Regions from separate parts of the Homo sapiens genome. Here region 2 is linked to region 1. The links are contacts of gene promoters, found by promoter capture Hi-C in human tissues and cell types (Jung and others, 2019). All regions are on one chromosome and are shown on one strand. The core of a region is centred on a gene start or on the middle of the fragment in contact, and the rest is flanking DNA. Distances in the headings are between cores, read along the strand shown. Region 1 holds the start of GIP (gastric inhibitory polypeptide). Region 2 overlaps LINC02086 (long intergenic non-protein coding RNA 2086).

The links. The method cuts DNA at HindIII sites, captures the fragments that hold promoters and counts their contacts. A contact is called where the count stands out against the background at its distance.
Region 2: a contact is called between a fragment that was not itself captured here and the fragment with the promoter of GIP in region 1, in 1 of the 25 tissues and cell types used here (dorsolateral prefrontal cortex).

Annotation. Positions count from the first base shown.
Region 1 is chr17:48,965,182-48,970,941 of GRCh38, reverse strand. GIP (gastric inhibitory polypeptide) reads left to right here and starts at 2,346. Exons shown (of 6, transcript NM_004123.3): 1 at 2,346-2,425; 2 at 3,689-3,795. The coding sequence starts at 3,710. RefSeq lists enhancers at 3,759-4,259, 4,260-4,760. The HindIII fragment of the contact is 44,226 bases long and covers 1-5,760 here.
Region 2 is chr17:48,655,014-48,660,773 of GRCh38, reverse strand. All of the region lies in intron 3 of LINC02086 (long intergenic non-protein coding RNA 2086), which reads right to left. Among named protein-coding and RNA genes, the nearest start is that of LINC03057, 11 kb to the right of the region's middle. The HindIII fragment of the contact is 5,644 bases long and covers 308-5,760 here.

The sequences.
Region 1 (5,760 bases), core at 1,097-3,596:
CACTTTTCTTGGATACTGTTGCCTCCAGGCAGGAGGCAGATTTGAACACAAGCCCTTCTGAGCTCATTAACTGTGTTGCTCAGCAGAAAACAAGATCACAAGCAGCCCTCACATCTCCCTTGGAGGTCAAATCTGAATCGACGTCTAATCTCTGCCCATTGGTAGCTGGGAGATGGAATTTGGAGAGCTTGCTAAGGGAGGAGTTTTTCTAGATGGTGGAGAATGGGTGGGTATGCAGAGGAGGTTTCCAGGAGGCAGAGGTAAGTGACCCTGCTAGTCCAGGTACCTCTCATCCCACACGCACACTTAATTTCATGCTGGATCTGCTCCTAGGCTAGGGTGTTCACCTGGAAAGGAAGGTGGCCTTTATTAGGACCTGGAGCTGATAGGCAGAGCATGAGCTTGGCTGTTTATGGTCCCAAGTACCCATGGCGGCGGCAGAGGAGGAGCCTGGAAAGAACGCCTTGGAGGTCTGCCAAAAATGCAATCTGTGCCCTGCCCCTTCTAGACTGAGAGCCCCTGTGGACAGAGCCATGTGCTAAGTACTTGGAGAAAGGCAAAGGGAGTATCCCAAGGAGTCTCCAGTCTGAGGGGGAGACACAGCCCTTAGCCTCAGAAAGCCTCAGTGTGCTGGGGGAACATCGCCTCCAGCTCTCCTCCTCCTCTCAGAGAGCTCCCAGGCAGATCAGGGACAGAAAGCCCCTGCCTTGGAGTGGCTCCTGTATAATAGAGAGGCACAGCATAACTCCAGGGTCTTCACTCTGATAGAAGAGACAGGATGACATACTTCTCTTGTACAGGACAGTAGGACATATGAGGAGAGGGGCTCCTAAATCTCTATAGATAAAGTTGTAACTACCCCACCCTCCTGTGAGCCCCTGAGGTACAAACATGTCTCTTTCTCCTGCTTTATCCTGCCCCTGAGCAGGAAGACAGCTTGAATGTATGTTCTCAGTTTATCCAGCTGTCCCTAGGAAACCCCGATCCTTCATATTCCCTCAACATTGAGCCCTTGGGACACCTCTCTAGATAATGTGATGGGGGCATTGCCACATCACCAAAGCCATAGGCCACTGTCCAGAGCTGGGATTCAGATGACTGTGGACCTACTCTCTCCCACCCAGAAGTAGCCTGTTGCCTTGTGGGAGTGTCCCCCTGCCAGTTAGTGCCACCCTACCCCAAGTCTGTCTTCACTACAAGTACCCTTTTTTATTTTTATTTTTATTTTTTGAGACAGAGTCTTGTTTTGTCACCCAGGCTGGAGTGCAGTGGCACGATCTTGGCTCACTACAACCTCTGCCTCCAGGTCTGGGTTCAAGCGATTCTCCTGCCTCAGCCTCCCAAGTAGCTGGGACTACAGGCACGTGCCACCATGCCTGGCTAATTTTTGTTTGTTTTTTTTTTTTTTGTTTGTTTGTTTGTTTTGAGATGGAGTCTCGCTCCGTCGCCCAGGCTGGCAGGCAGTGGCGCCATCTCGGCTCACTGCAACCTCCGCCTGCCGGGTTCACGCCATTCTCCTGCCTCAGCCTCCCGAGTAGCTGGGACTACAGGCACCTGCCAACATGCCCGGCTAATTTTTTGTGTTTTTAGTACAGACGGGGTTTCACTGTGTTAGCCAGGATGGTCTCGATCTCGTGACCTCGTGATCCACCCGCCTCGGCCTCCCAAAGTGCTGGGATTACAGGCGTGAGTCACTGCGCCCGGCCCCCTTTCTTTTTTCTTTTCTTTTTTTCTTTTTTGAGAGAGTCTCTCTTTGTTGCCCATGCTGGAGTGCAGTGAACTCGATCTTGGCTCACTGTAACTTCTGCCTCCCAGGTTCAAGTGATTCTCTTGCCTCAACCTCCCAAGTAGCTGGGATTACAGCCGTGCACGACCATGCCCAGCTAATTTTTGTATTTTTAGTAGAGACTGGGTTTCACCATGTTGGCCAGGCTGGTCTCGAACCCCTGACCTCAGGTGATCCGCCCGTGTCGTCCTCCCAAGCGCTGGGATTACAGACGTGATTCATCGCGCCTGGCCTACAAGTATCCCTTCTAACTGAGGGCAACTGTAAAGGAAGTAGGGCATAGAAGAATAGTAGTGGGCCCTGTGCCCAGAAGGGAGGAGGAGGAAGAAAAAAGGGGGTACTTAGGGTACCCTACCCACAGGCAGGCCCCAGACAGCAGCTGGAGATAGCCAAATGTTAATCACCAATTAGCACAGTTCAGGTGGAAAGGGCAACTCTATTATGTGTAAAATGGACTTAATGTGGCAGGAGCTGTGGGCTTAATTTCTTGAGATAAGATGCTTTTAGGCTAATCAGCAGGTCTATGCCTAATATAAAGGAGCTGGGGCATGATTTCTTCAGCAGGCTCAGAAGGTCCAGAAATCAGGGGAAGGAGACCCCTATCTGTCCTTCTTCTGGAAGAGCTGGAAAGGAAGTCTGGTAAGAGAAGTGGAGACAGGGATGGATGAGATGACCCGAGAGCAGATGGATCTTGGCAACCCTGAGATGCTCAGCAGCCCTGGCATCTTAGTTTTCTCTTCCTCTATATGAGATGTGAGAAGATAGTCAGGTGCGGTGCCTCATGCCTGTAATCCCAATACTTTGGGAGCCGAGGTAGGAGGATCATTTGAGCACAGGAGTTCAAGACCAGCCTGGGCAATGGAGGGAAACTCGATCTCTACACATAATTTAAAAAATTAGCTGGGCATGGTGGTACATGCCTGCGGTTCTAGGTACTCGGGAGGGTGAAGTGAAAGGTTTGCCTGAGCCCAGGAGGTCGAGGCTGCAGTGAGCCACGATTGTGTCACTGCACTCCAACCCGGGTGACAGAGCGAAACCCTGTCTCAAAAAAAGAGAAAGAGAAATGAGAAGGTAGCGCTGATGTTTCCTTTATTTATTTATTTAGAGATGGAGTCTCGCTCTGTCACCCAGGCTGGAGTGCACTGGCGCAATCTCGGCTCACTGCAACCTCTTCCTCCCAGGTTCAAGCGATTCTCATGCCTCAGCCTCCTGAATAGCTGGGATCACAGGCGCGCACCACCACACCTGGCTAATCTTTGTCTTTTATGTAGAGACAGGATTTCACCATATTGGCCAGGCTGGTCTCAAACTCCTGACCTCAAGTGATCCGCCCACCTGGGCCTCCCAAAGTGCTGGGATTGCAGGCATGAGCCACTGCACCCAGCCTGGTCCATCTTTTGGTAAGATTCCATGTCCCTTCTAGTCACTAACTCCAGTGCACAGCACCCCTCATCTTCCCCCATGGTGTTGCCCCAGGCTCTTAGAAAAGGTCCAAACTGGCAAGGCGCGATGGCTCACGCCTGTTATCCCAGCACTTTGGGAGGCCCAGGTGGGCAGATCACAAGGTCAGGAGTTCGAGACCAGCCTGGCCAATATGGTGAAACCCTGTCTCTACTAAAAATACAAAAATTAGCCGGGAGTGGTGGCACATGCCTGTAGTCCAGGCTACTCGAGAGGCTGAGGCAGAAGAATGGCTTGAACCCAGGAGGTGGAGGTTGCAGTGAGCCAAGATTGTGCCACTGCACTCCCACCTGGACGACAGAGCGAGACTCCATCTCAAAAAAAAAAAAAAAAAAGAAAAAGGAAAAGAAAGGGTCCAAACCTCAGGGCTTTGCCCCTCTCCAGCTTTCAGAACCCCTACTGGTTGCTCTCTCAACATGTCCTGGCTTTTTTCTGTCTTAGCTCAGGAAATAACCTTGGAAGATGGTGGCCACGAAGACCTTTGCTCTGCTGCTGCTGTCCCTGTTCCTGGCAGTGGGACTAGGAGAGAAGAAAGAGGGTCACTTCAGGTAGGAGTGGTGAGAGGAAAGGGATGGGGCAGAGGAGGGGTTAGGGGATGACAGGTTCTGGATTTGTTTCTAGGGGGAGATGAGAAAGGGAAGGAATCCAGGCTAAGAGGTAGGAAGCTCCAGGGAAATACCTGCCGGCAGCGTGAGTGCAAAGTGAGCACTGAGCCAGAGAGGATTTATTGTGTGCTGCTGTTACAGTGGGAGAGACTATGGTTAGATCTCTGGCGGGACTTCCTGGTGGTTAATTGTCCGAAGATGACAGAATCTCCCTTCCCAATAAATGTTTTATTCATTTATGCATGTTTGCTTCTTTCTTTTCTTTTTTTCTTTTTTCTTTTTTTGAGACAGGATCTTGCCCTGTCGCCCAGGCTGGAGTGCAGTGGCGTGATCGCAGCTCACTGCAGCCTCTGCCTGCCAGGCTCAAGCATCTTCCCATCTCAGCCTCCCGAGCAGCTAGGACCACAGGCATGTACCACCACGCTCGGCTAGTTTTTGAATTTTTTGTAGAGATGAGGTTTCGCCATGTTACCCAGGCTTATGAATGCATTCTTTTTTTTTTCTATTCTTTTCTTTTTCTTTTTTTTTGGGGGGGGATGGAGTCTCGCTCTGTCACCTAGGCTGGAGTGTGGTGGCACAATCTCGGCTCACTACAACCTCTGCCTCCTGGGTTCAAGCAATTTTCCCTGCCTCAGCTTACCGAGTAGCTGGGATTACAGGTGCCCACCACCACACCCGGCTAATTTTTGTACTTTTAGTAGAGATGGGGTTTCACTATGTTGGTCAGGCTGGTCTCGAACTCCTGACCTTAGATGATCCATCCACCTTGGCCTCCCAAAGCGCTGGGATTGAAGGCATGTAATCCCTGTGCCTGGCCCTTTTTTTTTTTTTTTTAATTGGAGTCTCACTTTCTCACCCAGGCTGGAGTGCACTGGCGCGATCTTGGCTCACTGCAACCTCCGCCTCCCGGGTTCAAGCAATTCTCTGCTTTAGCCTCCCAAGCAGCTGGGATTACAGGCACCTGCCACCACGCCCGGCTAACTTTTGTATTTTTAGTAGAGATGGGGTTTCACCATCTTGGCCATGCTGGTCTTGAACTCCTGACCTCGTGATCCACCTGCTTGGACCTCCCAAAGTGCTAGGATTACAGGCGTGAGCCACTGCGCCTGGCCTGTATCATGTAGATGTTAAGAACATAGATCTGAGCCCAGATGGCCTGGGGTAAATCCTGGATCTGTTACCTATACGGAGTGGCAGATAATAAGACAATAATAAGGTAATCTCTGCACCTTGGTTTCTCCATTCACAAAATGGGGATATAAATAGAACCTACCTCATAGGATGTTGTGAGGATGAAATTATTTTATGGATTCAAGGGCTTACACAGTGCTTCTCAGAGCTTTCGTATGAGTTGACTATTGTTATGGAATGTGAACCAAGGAATTGAATCAGGAAGGGCCAGGGCAGGAGGAATAAAGGAGGGAATTGTGTGACTCAGTCTTTTCAGATGAGGGGACCCCGATCCCTTTTTTTTTTTTTTTTTTTGAGATGGAGTCTCCCTTTGTCACCTAGGCTGGAGTGCAGTGGCGCGATCTCCGATTACTGCAAGCAGCGCCTCCTGGGTTCACGCCATTCTCCTGCCTCAGCCTCCCAAGTAGCTGGGACTACAGGCGCCTGCCACCACGCCTGGCTAATTTTTTTGTATTTTTAGTAGAGACGGGGTTTCACCATGTTAGCCAGGATGGTCTCAATCTCCTGACTTTGTGATCCACCCACCTTGGCCTCCCAGAGTGCTGGGATTACAGGCGTGAGCCACCGCACCCAGCCTTTTTTTTTTTTTTTTTTATTGAGACGAAGTTTTGCTCTTGTTCCCCAGGCTGGAGTGCAATGGCACGATTTCAGCTCACTGCAACCTCCACCTCCCAGGTTCAAGTGATTCTCCTGCCTCAGCCTCCTGAGTAGCTGGGA
Region 2 (5,760 bases), core at 1,880-4,379, 310 kb after region 1:
CTGGCCTAGTGAGTACTAAACAAAAACAAAATTAAGTTTTTGGCAATTACAACTGGCTTAACAAAATGAGAACCTGAGCCTTTATCATAACCTATTAAAACTGTTCACACAGATAAAACTAGGTATCCTGAGAGTGACTCTGTATAAAAAATAAATAAATAAAATGTACTAGGACCTTTTCGAGACAGGGTCTCACTCTGTGGCCCAGGCTGGAGTGCAGTGGTGCAATCTCAGCTCACTGCAGCTTCCCCTTCCCAGGTTCAGGTGATCCTGCCACCTCAGCCTCCCTAGTAGCTAGGACTACAGGCACACGCCACTTGTTTCGGCTAATTTTTGTATTTTTGTTTGTAGAGATGGGTTTTTTCCCATGTTTTCCAGGCTGGTCTCAAACTCCTGGACTCATGCAATCCACATGCCTCAGCCTCCCAAAGTGCTAGGATTACAGATGTGAGCCACCGCACCTAGCCATAAGCTCAAAACCCATTATATAAGACCTATTTAGAGAAGGGTGATTGTCCCCAGTTTTTCTCCACTCCAAATTGTCCTGGTCTTAAACCTAGAATGAATGAAGGATGCCTGATGGTGGATTACCACAATCATAATGCTGCAGTTCCACTTAAGAGTTCCTGGCACTCCTGAAACCCTTGAAATCTTTAGGCTAATATGTGTCTTTTGCATGCTAATGAAATGATTAGCTGGGAGTGCTAGATAGCTTCAAGATGGGGGCTGATGATCAGAAAGACCAAGGCATTAAAAGTTTGGAACTTTCAGGCTCATCTCAGACCTATGGGGCGGGGAGAGGGCTGGAGATTGAATCAGTCACCAATGGCCAATAATTTAATCAATCATGCCTAGGTAATTAAACCTCCATAAGTCCCTTCTACCCTACAGGGTTCTGTAAACACGTGGAGGTCCCGGGAGAGTGAAGCACTCAGGGCATGGAAACTCTGGGGGTACCCTCCTCCACCCCCGCTCAATACCCTTCCCTGGGCATCTCTTCCATCTGGCTGTTCCTGAATTGCATCCTTTATAATAAGCCAGTAAATGTAAGTAAAGTATTTTCCCGAGTTCTGTGAGCTATTCCAGTAAATTATGGAAACTGAGGAGGGGGTCATGAGAACACCCGATTTTTAACTGGCCAGTCAGAAGTACAGGAGGCCTGGGACTTGTGACTGGTCTCTAAAGATGGGGCAATCTCGTGGGAACTGATGTGAACTCCAGGTAGATAGTGTCAGAATGAAACTGAATTGCTGGACACCCAGTTGGTTTTCAGAGAGTTGGAGAATTGGTTGGTGTATTAGGTCGTTTTCAGGCTGCTGATAAAGATATACCCGAGACTGGGAAGAAAAGAGGTATAATGGACTTACAATTCCAAATGGCTGGGGAGGCCTCACGATCATGGCAGAAGGCAAGGAGGAACAAATCACATCTTACATGGATGGCAGCAGGCAAGAGAAAGAGAGCTTGTGCAGGGAAACTCCCGTTTTTAAAACCATCAGATCTTGTGAGACTTATCCACTATCATGAGAATAGCACAGGAAAGACCCACCCTCATGTTTCAATTACTTCCCACTGGGTTCCTCCCACGACATGTAGGAATTGTGGGAGTTACAATTCAAGATGAGATTTGGGTGGGAACACAGTCAAACCATATCAGTTGGTATAGGGGAAAAAACCCATACATTTAGTGTCAGAAGTGTTGTGAGTAAAAAACAGGCCAGCTTCTATACTACTAAAATTACTGCCTCCCTCCAATCAGCAACTGGCAAATACTTTGCTATCATATATTTGGGCTAATATGTTCTCTTAAGTTCCCGTTTCAGCCAGCTTGTCTTTACCATTGCATGGACACAATATACTAACTACCCATGGGACCCCCAACAGACCTGCCATTGCACACGATCTTTGCAAACAAAAACCTTAACTGCATCCAACTCTCTCCAGAAACACAAGTATGATGTTAGATATATGACATCCTTCTCAGAGGAAATTAATTTTTTAAAAAGACAGGGTCTTGAGGCCGGGCGCGGTGGCTCACGCCTGTAATCCCAGCACTTTGGGAGGCCGAGGTGGGTGGATCATGAGGTCAAGAGATCGAGACCATCCTGGCCAACATGGTGAAACCCCGTCTCTACTAAAAATACAAAAAAAATAGCCGGATGTGGCGGCAGGTGCCTGTAGTCCCAGCTACTCGGGAGGCTGAGGCAGGAGAATGGCATGAACCCAGGAGGCTGAGCTTGCAGTGATCCGAGATCACGCCACTGCACTCCAGCCTGGGCAACAGTGTGAGACTCTGTCTCGAAAAAAAAAAATAAATAAATAAATAAATAATAAAAATAAAAAGACAGGATCTTATGATGTTGCCCAGGCTGGAGTGCAGTAGCTATTCACAAGTACAGTCATAGCACACTGCAGCCTCAAACTCCTGGGCTCAAACGATCCTCCCCTCTCAGCCTCCTGAAGTAGTTGGGTGCAGTGGAAATTCATTTGATACACTAATTTAACGCATACAAACATTCAAAAGGCAGCTCATGAAAAAGGATGGGTCATTTCTTCCACACAAAGTACAAGGTACAAGCACAAGTATACCTCAGTAAAATTTCTGGGTATTACTTAGTAAATTGAGAGCTGTTTATCCTTGACATTTCTGACATTGTCAAGAAATCTCTATTGACCCTCTTAGCACCCACAATGCTAAAAGCCCAGTATCTTTTAGAACTCTGGGGGTTCTGAAGCAACATGTTCCTCCTTTGCAAATTTTAATTAAGACATTTTTGGTTTTTTTTTTTGAGTCAGAATCTCCCTCTGCCACCAAGGCTGGACTGCAGTGGCATGATCTTGGCTCACTGCAACCTCTGCTTCTCAGGTTCAAGTGATCCTCCTGCCTCAGCCTCCCAAGAAGCTGGGATAACACGCACCCACCACCACGCTCAGCTAATTTTTTTGTATTTTTTTAGTAGAAACGGGGTTTCAGCATGTTGGCCAGGCTGGTCTCGAACTCCTGACCTCAAGTTATCCACCCGCTTTGGCCTCCCAAAGTGCTGGGATTACAGGTGTGAACCACTGCACCCGGCCCTACTTAAGCCCATTTTTGCTGTTCCTTACAAATTGGTTCACCTGAATGGGGTCCACTAAAACAAAAGGCTTAAAACCTGTTCAAATTGCAAAAGGACAGACCCTACTGTTAGTGCTCCCCAGAAATTCCTTCACTGTAGAGGCTTTAGCAACCTCCTCTCATACTTCCAGAGACTGTTAGTGCTCCCCAGAAATTCCTTCACTGTAGAGGCTTTAGCAACCTCCTCTCATACTTCCAGAGTCTTTGGTTCACTTATGATGGCCATAAATAGTCTGTGGGTTTCCGATGCAAGAAATCGCCTTCCTCAGCCTGATGCTATACATTATTAGAGTGACAATAGCTGACTGCATACTGGACTCTTCCAAAAAAGGAGGCTCTTACAGGCCTTGAGACCATGACACACTAGCTGCCCGCTATGCCTTGGGCCATGGAAGGCACACCCCCAAAGCTTGGCATGGCTATTGAGGCTTCCTTGCTAAAATGAAAATAGTATCTACAGTATGGAGCCAAATCTGGGTCCTGTAGCATATCCTGCCTGCAGGAGGCCATGGGCTCCCCTGTCCTCAGTTTCTGGCCAGACACCACAGTGCTGAAGGAGGTCATTCCTCTCTCAGACCCCTTGGCTTCTTGGGGATCCCTTTGGGATCAACTGAGTGAACAGCAAAGGGAATTCACATACTTTAAAAATGGCAGTGCTACCGTCACAACTGATTCTATTTGTGTTTTCCATCCCTTAACAGACATCCCTGATAAAAGACAGGACCCAAGGGTCCACACAATTTGCCAAACTTCAAGCAGTCATCTTAGCAACAAAGGATGCCCTGCCCAATAAGCAACCCCATCTTAACATTTTTCAGACCCTTAGGCCATTGCCAATTACCTGGCTATCTGGTCTGACTAATGGCAACAACAGTTCTTTATCCAAGGTCATCCTCTTTGGGGTAAAGAACTCTGGAAATGTCTTGCTTGAAGATACCCAGAAATATAAATCAAGGTCAGATATATCTCTGCACATACTCAAGCCACAATACAAGGCCTCACCAAGATACTCCTTATCCCCTTCAGAGTTCCATACATTCTTGAGAGTGACCGAGGCATTCATTTCACTTCTCAAAATACATAACATTAGGCTCTTTAATAAGAAGGCATTGAACAGAAATTTTATCCCCCTTACTGGCCTCAGGCTGCAGGCCTCATAGAGTACCATCACAGCATACTTAAACAGGTTTAAATTTAATTTAAAAAAACAGGATACATTTCAGTAATCCATTAAACATCAGGGGTGAATTGTAACAGAATCCAATTCCATATTTGATGTTTGACCACTGACAGCTTTGAAGCCCCACAACTCCTCCTTAATCTTTTGCCCTCCATTTGGTAGACAAAAAAGCCTAGGTGTTTCCTCCCTTGGCTCCAGCAGGGAAGTTCAAACACTGGCCTGTGCATGGGAAAACCATGCCCTATCCCCAGCCCTTAACCTCAATAAGACCCAAGGCAACTTGCCCCTCCCTTGTTCTCAAGCCATTTTGGGGCCTTTTGGGGAGCCTGTTGTGCTCTGCCCAGAATGCCTCATGCCCTCTTTGTGTATATGTGGCATCATCAGTCTCCACATTCAAACCACATTTGGGTAGAGTTGCTGATCTTTGCTCTGCAGGGCAACCACAAACAACCAGCACAAGTGTCAAGAAAGGAAGCCTGAGGAACTATCCCAGATTAAAGGAGACTAAGAAGAAAAGACAATTAAAGGCAATAAGCAACCCTAGATTGAATACTGGTCAAGAAAAGGGGCAATAGTAGGACAATGGACAAAACTGGAATAAGGTCTCCAGGTGAGCTAATAGTATTGTATCAATGTCAATCTTTTAGTTTGGATGGTAGTTTTGTGGATGTTACCGTATGAAGAAATTGGGAAATAGGTTTATGGAAATTTTTTGGGCAATTTTGTAATTCTTCATAAGTATAATATTATTGCAAATTATAAAGTTTTAAAATGTTTTACCTTTAAATGACTATTTCAGACAAAAGCTAAAAGAAACTGTCGCCAGCATACCTGCAGTATACAAATGTTAAATATGCATATAAATATAAAACACCTTATTTCATTTTAATATATTTAAAAGACAATTTACTATTTAAGCAAAACATAATAGCAATGTACTGCAGGGCTCATAGCTACAGATAAATTATATGTCAGCAATAGCCACAAAAGAGAAGGAAATAGAAGTATACTATTGTATCACCATACATGAGGTAATATTCTTTTTATTTTATTTTTAATTTTTTTAGAGACAAGCTCTTTCTCTGTAGCCCAGGCTGGAGAGCAGTGATGTGATCGCAGCTCACTGCAGCCTCGAACTTCAGGGCTCAAGCAATCCTCCCCACTTAGCCTCCTGAGTAGCTGGGACTATAGGCACACAGCACTACGCCCAGCTAAGTGATATAATATTCTTTGCAGATAGACCGTGATAAGTTAAAGATGCAAATTATAAATCTCAAATGTGATGGTTAATTTTATGTGTCAACTTGACTAGGCCATGGGGTGCCAGATATTCAGTTAAACATTATTCTGGGTACGTCTACAAGGGTGTTTCTGCATGACATTATTTGAATCAATAGACTGAGTAAAGCACATTGCCCTCCCTAATATGGGTGGACCACATCCAATCGATTGAAGAACTGACAAG